Linked DNA regions of Homo sapiens: regions 1 and 3 are each linked to region 2. The links are contacts of gene promoters, found by promoter capture Hi-C in human tissues and cell types (Jung and others, 2019). All regions are on one chromosome and are shown on one strand. The core of a region is centred on a gene start or on the middle of the fragment in contact, and the rest is flanking DNA. Distances in the headings are between cores, read along the strand shown. Region 1 overlaps GTF3A (general transcription factor IIIA). Region 2 holds the start of PDX1 (pancreatic and duodenal homeobox 1). Region 3 overlaps LNX2 (ligand of numb-protein X 2).

Region 1 (3,208 bases), core at 374-2,873, 480 kb after region 2:
TTTAATGGTGAGAAATTAATGTGTATTTCACTTTTTTCTTCTGTGAATTGCGTGTTTATATTCCTTTATTTTTCTACGTAGATGGTTTTTCTCCGATTTATAGGGTTCTCTGTTGTGTATGATGGAAAAAACCGTATCCCAGTTAGATTTTTCATTTTGCCTTTTTTTCTTAATGAGTTCCATCCCCTATCCTGAGATCACAAACCATTCTGTCTTTTCTTCTGTTTGTTTTAAAGTTGTATTTTTCACCTGTAGAACATTAGTATACCTGGGGAGACCTAACTTTTTGTCATCTATAAACTTCTCAATTGTCCCAACACCTTTATTGAGTGGCCGGTTCCTTCTCTATAATTTTCCAGTAGGCAGGATTTCTGGAGACAGAGGGCATGAACACAGGATGTAGGGACCCTTACCTGTCCAACAGTCTGGCTGACCCCTTATAGCAAGGAGAGCATCTCAAAAGGAGTGGGTAGTGCACTCCCAGATGCCAACCCACAGCTGATAGATAAGGATGTTAAGTGCACCATGAAGCCAAACTTGATCCTTTAAACGACTATCTTTTGGTGTTCTTTCAACAAACGATGGTTAACAATAAATGGAAGCATTTCAGATTTTAAGTACCCTTCCAGGGCAGGTAAAAAATTGGTACCTTTATGTGTATCTTCCCCATTTGAAAAGACATTTACTGGTCTGTGAAACTGAAAGCCAGATGAGAAGATTGTCAGGTGGCAACCTAGGATTTTATGATGGGCATGTTGGGAAGTTCAGGGTTCACAGTGGACTAGTCAGTAGTCCTTGCACCCTATCTGTTTCAAACCAGGACCAACCCTGAGAAAGGAACTGATTTTGTCTTCAAATATTGGACAACATGATTTGGACACAAAGACTAAACAGATTCAGCAGTGGATTAAGAAAAAACACCTAGTCCAGATTACCATAAAGAAAGGAAAAAATGTAGACGTGTCAGAAAATGAAATGGTAAGTAAAGAAGGTACAAGCCACTGCTTGTGCTTTGGGTCTTCTGATCTAAAAATACAATTGTAGGCCAGGCGCGGTGGCTCACGCCTGTAATCCCAGCATTTTGGGAGGCCAAGGTGGGCGGATCACGAGATCAGGAGATTGAGACCAACCTGGCTAACATGGTGAAACCCCGTCTCTACTAAAAATACAAAAAATTAGCCAGGCGTGGTGGCGGGCACCTGTAGTCCCAGCTACTGGGGAAGCTGAGGCAGGAGAATGGCGTGAACCCGGGAGGCGGAGCTTGCAGTGAGCCGAGATCGCGCCACTGCACTCCAGCCTGGGTGACAGAGCAAGACTCCGTCTCAAAAAAAAAAAAAAAAAAAAAAAATTGTAGAAAATCTGAAATATAAAGACAAAGTGACTGGTAATTCTTCCACCCAGTGATGTTAACAGCTTTCTAGTTTGCTTTTCAAAACTAAGCATACTGTAGATATAGTTTCCATTACAGCGTATTTTGCCATATGAACACATTATTCCTTAAAAGCAATATACTATTGTTTTATAAATTGTAGAATAACCCTTAAACAGGAAAATTAGAAACTTTATAGATTTTTTGTTTCTTCTTTGTACTTATAGGGGCATTAATTACGTAGACTGTCTTCTAGAAAGTGTGTAGTTTCCAATCCCATAAGTTTATGGAATACCTATTTTGCTTTTTTTTTTTAAAAGTTAGATAACTTTATCATCCACTAAGGGTATCCTTAGTAATCCAGCTCCACAGTAGAGTCACTTAAGCATAGGTCGCAACCCAGCTGATGCAGAATTTCTTGAGCCCAGGTATCCATTTGTTTCAGTCACTGAGAGAGACTCTGTTAGGGGCAATAGAGAGTGCTGAGAACTGCTCGGCTGACACCTTGGGGATGAGGAGGTATTTTGCCAATGCCCAAACCCAGTGCTTTCTGTTTGTGGGAGAGGGTAATGCTGAGCCAAACGTAGCCTCTTCGTGCCATGACGAAGTGGAGATTTAAAATTAGGAAGCATTCAGCATGTCAGTTTAGTTACATGGTGTTATTGTACAGATTTCAGTCAACTTAACCAGATACGTATGAACTGATTAGCTAATCACTTAACCGACAGCAGCAATTCAAGGGTGCCAGTTTTTGTGAATGTTCAAGCAGAACATTAGAAAGCACCAAAGCCTCTGATTTTAAATTAATCTTTGGCTGTTTCCCTTTTTTAGGAGGAGATATTTCATCAAATACTCCAGACTATGCCTGGAATAGCTACATTCTCATCTAGGCCACAAGCTGTTCAAGGAGGAAAAGCTTTAATGTGTGTTCTTCGTGCTTTCAGCAAAAATGAGGAGAAGGCATATAAAGAAACTCAAGAGACCCAGGAAAGAGACACTTTGAACAAAGACCATGGAAATGATAAGGAATCAAATGTTCTGCATCAGTAATTTTAATAAAGAAAAGCATGCTCTGAGAGAAAGCTCGCTCCTTGGTCTGCAGTCCTTTAAACAAAGCAGTGCAGTTCTTAGCCAAGGGTAAGTACTGCAACTGTCGAGAGCATCTTGTCTTCCACACAGTTGGGTGACTCTCCGTTTTGACACAAAGATAAGCCTTGCCCTTGTTTCCTTTTGGGAGGGATATATCCACTGAGATGAGAGGCCAAACTCCGTTTTTCACGAGATTTTTTGACCTTTGGGAATAAGGAAGACACACGATTAGAATTCAAAATCAAAACTGTCTGAGTTAATTTTACGATAGTCATATGTACCAGCAGATATAGTGTACAACATTGCTTTATGAGGAAGTAAAGTCTTCAACAGTAGTGCAGACTCAAACAGTAAAGCAGGTGAAAAGAATTCCAAACAGACTCCTTCTGGCCTTAAACAATTTCCACTTGAAAACTAAGCTTGCCTAAGTAGTTTCAACTTACTTTGAGCTTCATTTTCTTCTTGTCAGGATCATGTACAACAGCATGCCTAGTGAGACTTTGCTACAATGAAAGAGAAAGTTATTAATGAAATATTAATATGAAAACCATGTTGTGAAAGCATAGACTATAGGACCATGAGTATGAGGGTGAGTGCTTACTTTCATTGCAAATGTTTTGCCACAGCCAGCATGTTCACACACAAAAGGGCGGCTTTCCTCATGGAAGGAGAGGATATGGCTTTGGAGATTAAACACAGTTGTATAGGTTCTTCCACAGCCTTCTCTTGGACAGCGACATACATCCCTTT
Region 2 (3,066 bases), core at 186-2,685:
GCAAAGGACCCGGGGGCTACCCCGTGCCTCCGGCTCCCGGCTCCGGGAAAGACCTTCTGTTCTCTGCCGGCGCGGAGGGCCGCAGGAACCAGGCCTCTCGCCTCCCCACCAGCTAGGCAGGGAGCGCCCATCTCCTGAAAAATTACTTCCTGGGAAGCGGTGCGGGGAGACAGCTTCAATTGCTTTCGGTTGGTGAAAAACGAATTCGCTTCTCAGATTGCTCTCCTAGCTGCCAGGCTCTGACGTTGAGAGGCCGGCTTTCAGCCTCGCGGTGAGCCCCCGCCTTGCCCCAGCCCCTTCCTCTTTACTCCTATCCTGTTTCCACAACCAGGGCAGCCGGACACTGCTGGGTTGGGTGCAGTTTCCTTTCCCTCCCTGCCTTTCTGCACCTACCTGGCGCCCCTAGATGCCTGCCCTTCCTTAACGAAGCGCGGGAAGTGAGGGGCTCCGGGGCTCCGAAGGCGATCTGGGGCCTGGGTCCGAGGCACCCATGTCCCTACTCGGCTTCCTCGATGTGCACTACCAAGGAGTCCTGGGTTCCCGGATCCCCTGCTGGAGGAGGATCTGTAGTGTCCGAAGCCCTGAGCAGGACTCAGCCTCGGCTCTCTAAGGATGGCGCTGGGAGCGCGGGCTCCTGGGGCGAAGATGGGCTCAGCGAACAGGGAAGGAAGGAGTGTACACTCCCAGGAGAGCTGGGTGGGAAAGATGCTTCAAACTGGACTAGAGAAGCACTGCTGTGAGGGATGGGCTCGGTAGCTCCCTGATGTAGTTTAGTCCGACCCGGGATAATCCAAGGCGCCGGGAACAGAGAGAAGGCTCCTGGGAGCGCTTGGAGGTAAGGCGGCCGGGTGAGAACCGGAAAGGAGAAAGGGGTGGGGAGCCAGGCTTACCTGCCCACTGGCCTTTCCACGCGTGAGCTTTGGTAGACTTCATCCATGGGAAAGGCAGCTGGACGCGGTTGGGCTCCTCCAGGACGCCCGGCTCGGCTCCCTCCGGGAAGGGCCCGGCGGGCGGGTGGGGGAGCGCGAGCTGAGCCGGGAGGTGGTGGTGAAGGTGCGCCACCGCGGGGTCGTCGGCGAGGGGGGGCACCTCGTACGGGGAGATGTCCGGGGGGCTGCCCTGCTCCAGCGCGCCCAGGGCGCCAGGGAACGGGTGCGGCGGCGGCGGCGGGGGCTGGCGGCCCATGTACAGGCACGCAGGGGGGCTGGCGCTGAACTCCGGCGCCGGGCCTCGCTGGAACGCGCATGGGTCCTTGTAAAGCTGCGTGGCCGCGTAGTACTGCTCCTCGCCGTTCATGGCTGCGGCCCGGGATTGGGCACCGGGAGCCGGGAGCCGGGAGCCGGGAGTCGGGAGCTGGAGCCGGGGATTTGGCACTGTGTGGCGTTCCCACTCCCGGCGCCACCCCTGCTCGCTTTGACAGCTCCGCACTGATCTCAGAGGGAACCCACAGCCAGCGCGGACCGGCGGGCCGGCCGCCGCACCATAGGCTCCGCGGGGCCCCACGTGGTTCAGCCGGGGGCCGTGATTGGCCTGGCTGGCCGCACTAAGAGGCTAGGCCCAGGTACCCGCGAGCACCTGCTTTTGTTCCAATTTTCTCTCTCAGCTGAGTTTGCTGCACACTCCTGAACGGGCAGCTGGCGGTGCTCCCCAAAATGGGCGCTCACGAAAACATTAGAACCACTCATTTATAGAAACATTTTCACCGTGGCTTAAAAGTTTCTATTTTCCTATATTTTTCTATTTTCTATTTTCCTATATTTTTTCTATTATATTTGATAATGGACATAGTGTGTTTGTTAATTGATGTAGTTTACAAGGAGACATGTTGAGTTTTTAATTTTTTATTTAACTGTTGCGGAATACGATAAAAAAAAAGTTTGCAGACCCAGCTCTCTAGGTCAGAAGCATTTGATTCTATTTTATTTATGAAGTTTGTTCACAGCCACAAAGATGTCGGTTAAAAAACACACGAAACTCTGGCATTCGTTGTGTGTTTTTACTTGTGGATGTGCTGCAAGTACTTCTGGGGTGTAAACGGTAACTTCTGAAGCATTCACAGAGACTTTTTTAAATTCTTTTTTTTAAAAAATTGAAGGGTATTACAAATTTGGGTTTTGGAAAATTGGGGCCCATTTGGCCAGCCCGGAACGTAGCTTCCCAATACAGCGAGGGGGAAAGACGCGGCCTTCCTCTTGGGGCTGCGAAGCAGGGGCAGGTGTTGGCACGGGGGTTCCAGACCCTTGACGACTCTCTACGGGCCGGGACCCTGGCGGAGTTTGCCGGCAGAGAACACTCACTCTCTTCTGCTTGCAATTGAAATAAGGCAAGCAGGAGAGGGGGAAGTGGAGGAAGAGTTACATATTTAGAAAAAGAAATAAAAACGCTGCATTTTCCATGATAACATCTGTGCTTGGCTTCAAACCATTCAGTAACTTCTGGGCATTCTGGGGTCCTGACTTAAACAGGGCCACTTTTTCTGCACCCACTGACGCGGATGGATGACCTCCGGGTGGCGGTGACGTCCAACCCCCTGCCTGGGCATGATCCGCTAGGCCTGGCGGCCTGACCAGCCTCTGACTGGATACTCCCGAAATGAGGACGTTTCTCGAAACGCCACCGTGGGTTTTAGAAAAACTAGACAGCTTTGCAGAAACGTCTCAGCAAGAGAGAGCTTGAACCACAAAGAACCAAGCCAGAGAAAAATCACTGCTCCGCCTTTCCTAAACAACGCACCAACATCCAGACCTTTGAGAGTCAATCTTAATGTATTTCTTTCTTCCTACTGGAAATATTTGTGTTTTAAGTGCGGATTGAGTGCTCTATTCTGAGGACTCTTTATTTTTATTAAAAGACAAAAAAGCCAGTCGGGAATGTGGACTTCTCTGCAGATTCCTTCTCTTGCGGGAGGCCGGTATAGTCTCAGCATTTGCTTCGATGTGTGAGAACTCATGTGTGTGGCTTCCTGGCCTGTGGCCTCATGTGTGTGGCTCTGATGTGTGGCTCCCTGGCTTGTAGATGCCCTTGCTGTCACCGAAGACAGGCCAAGGGAAGCACGGCGGCGGGCGG
Region 3 (3,508 bases), core at 252-2,751, 300 kb after region 2:
GGATATGAGAAGGAGCAGTTAAAAACAATTGATGGTAGAGGTGTAGAAGGGAAGATAAGTTCAGTTTTGGACTAATCTAAGGAGGTGCTAAATGGATGGTTGAGAGATCCATGATGCAGTTGTTGGATAGTTGTGTCTCACAGGAGCTAGGAAAGAATAGAAAAGAAAAAGAGTTCACAGAAAGGCTTTATGAGTATGGTAAGCTTTATGAGAGATTTAGAGGAAGGGGAGGGTGAAGGGGTTCACAGTGGAGCGATATCAGAAGTGTTGACATTGAATATTAGGCATTTCTATCCTTAAAATATATTTTGGCCACCATCAAAGAAAGGAGGACTCCAGGCTCTTGTAATCTGGTTGGCTCTTTGGCCTTCTTCCCCTCTTCTTTCTTTCCTTTACAATTGCCACCCGATATCTTTAAATTGTATTATGAGGAACTATTTAACTTTCCTTCCTGCTTACAGGGCTAGAGTTCACAGGCCCACCTTCCTCTATCCAAATGCATCTAGGTTTTTAAAAAAGAATCACAGGTCTCATTTCATAGGTTCTCCTCTATTTAGGAAGCAGTGTTGTTTGAAAAAGTAATACATATGTATCTTGCATGTAGAATTAGAAGACTGGGGCAGGCCTACCTAAATTGACCCTGTAGGAGGGCCTGAGAGTCTTACAAAAGACATCCCTTTTAGCTTTCCTGGCACCTGTTTCTTTTCCTCAGAAAATACAAAGCAGTAGGAAAATCTGTGGTTAATAAGTTATTTTGTTTGGTTGGATTCAGAAAAGGTGGCTATTTTGTGTATTAGCCTTCTAAGAAGTTATTAAGAGGAATTTTTTGGCCAGGTGCAGTGACTCACGCTTATAATTCTAGCACTTTGGGAGGCTGAGGCGGGCGATCACGAGGTCAGGAGTTCAAGACCAGCCTGGCCAACACAGTGAAACCCTGTCTCTACTAAAAATACGAAAATTAGCTGGGCGTGGTGGCAGGTGCCTGTAATCCCAGCTACTCAGGAGGCTGAGGCAGGAGAAATCGCTTGAACCCGGGAGCTAGAGGTTTCAGTGAGCTGAGATTGCGCCACTGCGCTCCAGCCTGGGTGATAGAGCTAGACTCCATCTCAAAAAAGGAATTTTTTAACAAGCAAGTGCTCATGACATTACAATAATAAATTGTCCTCTAGTTAGTATGCTTTTAAAGAAGCAGGTGTTGTAGGTTCTATCCTTTAGAATGTGTGCTTCCTAGAGCTGGGATCCTATCTATTTTGCTAACTGCAGAATCCCTAAGTACTTAAACAAATATTAATGTATTGTAAACCAAAAATAAAATTCTAAGCTTCCCCCTCTCCCCAGCCATCTGAATGGACTTCCTCCTCATCCAGGGGTCTTTTAAAATTTAACCTGAGAGACAGTTTCAGGCCATGAGTGGGAAGTGGAGGTCGGACATGACTTGTTATACCTCTCTGACATTAACATTAACATAGACTTTAAGTCCGATAAGAAACGTTTTACTACCACCTATCGAAGCCTACTACCTGAAGGCTTCCTCTGAAAGTAAGAACTTGGGTCTCCACAATCCTTTGTCTTAACCCAGACATTCCTTTCTGTTGATCCCAGGGCTTTAGACAAACTCAACCGACTGTCAACCAGAAAATGTTTAAATTTACCTATGGCTTGGAATGGCACTCCCTGCTACCCCCCCCAACCCCCCACCCCACCCCCGACCCCCTGCAATTGTCCCACCTTTCTGGACCAAACCAATGTATTTCTTAAAATTTTTTGATTGATGTCTCATGCCTCCCTAAAATGTATAAAACCAAGCTGCACCCCTACCATCTTGGGCACATGTTCTTAGGACCTCCTGAAGGCTGTGTCATGGGCCATGGTCACTCAGATTTGGCTCACGATAAATCTCTTCAAATATGTTGCAGAGTTTGACTCTTTTTGTTGACAGCATGCATTAATGAACAAATTGGATCCAAATTGGCTTTGATCTGGCTTGGCTCACAGACTTCTCCAAATCTTTGAAACAGTCATTGGTCAGAGGGAAAGCAAAAGAGAATTGATCCAGTGAGGAAGCTTGAACTGTTCCCTGTTCTTATAGGAATATAGAAGAACTGCAACATTGATGGCTTATGATTAAGCTTCTGTGATGTTGTGAAATATATATATGGTCTTTATCCCTGTTTCCTGGCATACAACTCTCAAATTCCTTGGAATCTGCAAAGCGCTAAGTGTCTTTGTATGCTGATGAGTTGACTGAACAGCTGGCAGCCCCTAGGTAGCTTCAGGATGGGCCCTGGGCACTGGAAAGGCTGGATTAGAGGGTTAGGACTGTCAGCCCCACCACCACCCTCCAGGGAGGGCAGAGGAGCTGAAGGGTAAGCTGATCACCAATGGCCAATGATTTAACCAACCATACCTATGTTATGAAGTCTTCATAAAAGGCCCAAGAGGACAGGGTTCAGAGAGCTTCTGGACAGCTGATCACATGGAGGTTCCTGGAGGGTAACACGCCCCAGAGAGGGCATGGACGCTCCGCACCCCTTCCCCGTACCTCGCCCTGTGCATCTCTTCATCTATATCCTTTGTAATATCTTTTATAATAAACTGGTAAACCTAAGTAAGTGTATCCCTGAGTTCTGTGAGCTGCTCTAGCAAGTTAATTGAACCCAAAGAGGGGTTATGGGAACCCCAAATTGAGGCCAGTCAGTTAGAATTTTCTGAGGCCTGCACTTGCGACTGGTGTCTGGTGGAGAGGGGAGCGGTCTTGGAGACTGAGCCCTCAGCTTTGGGATCTGGGGTTATCTCCAGGTCAGAATTGAATTGAACTAGAGGACACTCAGCTGGTGTCCACTGCTTTGTGTACTGGGGTGTCGGGGGGAGCCCACATTTGGACATAGAAGTATTCTGTGTTGATGACTGTTGTGTTGAATAAGAGAATAGAAAAAAACACTCCTGAGTGTGTTTTTATTTCCTCTCAGTTTCCAAGGCTCTGTTGTCTATCACTTTGTTTTATAGATAAAAGTAAGGTAAGTCTGGGAAATATTTATACCTGCCACCCCCTTCCCCGTTGGGATTTCGGCTACTAATCTTAAAGACTTAATCGTTTATGAGAACCCTTATCATTTAGACCAATAAATAATTACTGAACCCATAAATTGGAGACCTTTACTTAAATCTTATTTCAGTTTTGTGACTTTTTCTTCTTTAGCTGCCCAATGGGTTCTTCCTGCCTACTGCCCAGATAGAGCCAATTTATCAAGGCAGGGAATTGCAATAGAGAAAGAGTTTTTACACACATAGATCTTGCGGAACAGAAGACTGGAATTTTATTATTACCCAGATCAGCCTACCTGAGCATTTGGGGGCTATTTTCAAAGGTAGTCTGGGGGAAGGGGTGGGAGTGGCTAGGCAATGGGTGCTTGCTGCTGATTGGTTGGGGGCACAATCATGGGGGTGTGGGAAATGGTACTCCTATGCTCTGAGTGGCTTCTGGGTGAGGCCACAGGAGTGGTCAGTG

What was found. Contacts are between HindIII fragments. The study calls those that stand out against the background at their distance.
Region 1: a contact is called between a fragment that was not itself captured here and the fragment with the promoter of PDX1 in region 2, in 1 of the 25 tissues and cell types used here (H1 embryonic stem cells).
Region 3: a contact is called between a fragment that was not itself captured here and the fragment with the promoter of PDX1 in region 2, in 1 of the 25 tissues and cell types used here (H1 embryonic stem cells).

Annotation. Positions count from the first base shown.
Region 1 is chr13:27,434,886-27,438,093 of GRCh38, reverse strand. GTF3A (general transcription factor IIIA) reads right to left here. Exons shown (of 9, transcript NM_002097.3): 7 at 3,060-3,208; 8 at 2,902-2,961; 9 at 2,271-2,661. The coding sequence ends at 2,497. It overlaps MTIF3 (mitochondrial translational initiation factor 3), which reads left to right. Exons shown (of 5, transcript NM_152912.5): 4 at 821-978; 5 at 2,201-2,451. The coding sequence ends at 2,419. Among named protein-coding and RNA genes, the nearest start is that of GTF3A, 12 kb to the right of the region's middle. RefSeq lists an enhancer at 2,410-3,208. The HindIII fragment of the contact is 5,770 bases long and covers 1-3,208 here.
Region 2 is chr13:27,918,369-27,921,434 of GRCh38, reverse strand. It overlaps PDX1 (pancreatic and duodenal homeobox 1), which reads right to left and starts at 1,435. Exons shown (of 2, transcript NM_000209.4): 1 at 891-1,435. The coding sequence starts at 1,296. The HindIII fragment of the contact is 14,480 bases long and covers 1-3,066 here.
Region 3 is chr13:27,614,368-27,617,875 of GRCh38, reverse strand. The region is part of intron 1 of LNX2 (ligand of numb-protein X 2); the gene reads left to right. Among named protein-coding and RNA genes, the nearest start is that of LNX2, 4.4 kb to the left of the region's middle. The HindIII fragment of the contact is 4,182 bases long and covers 1-3,508 here.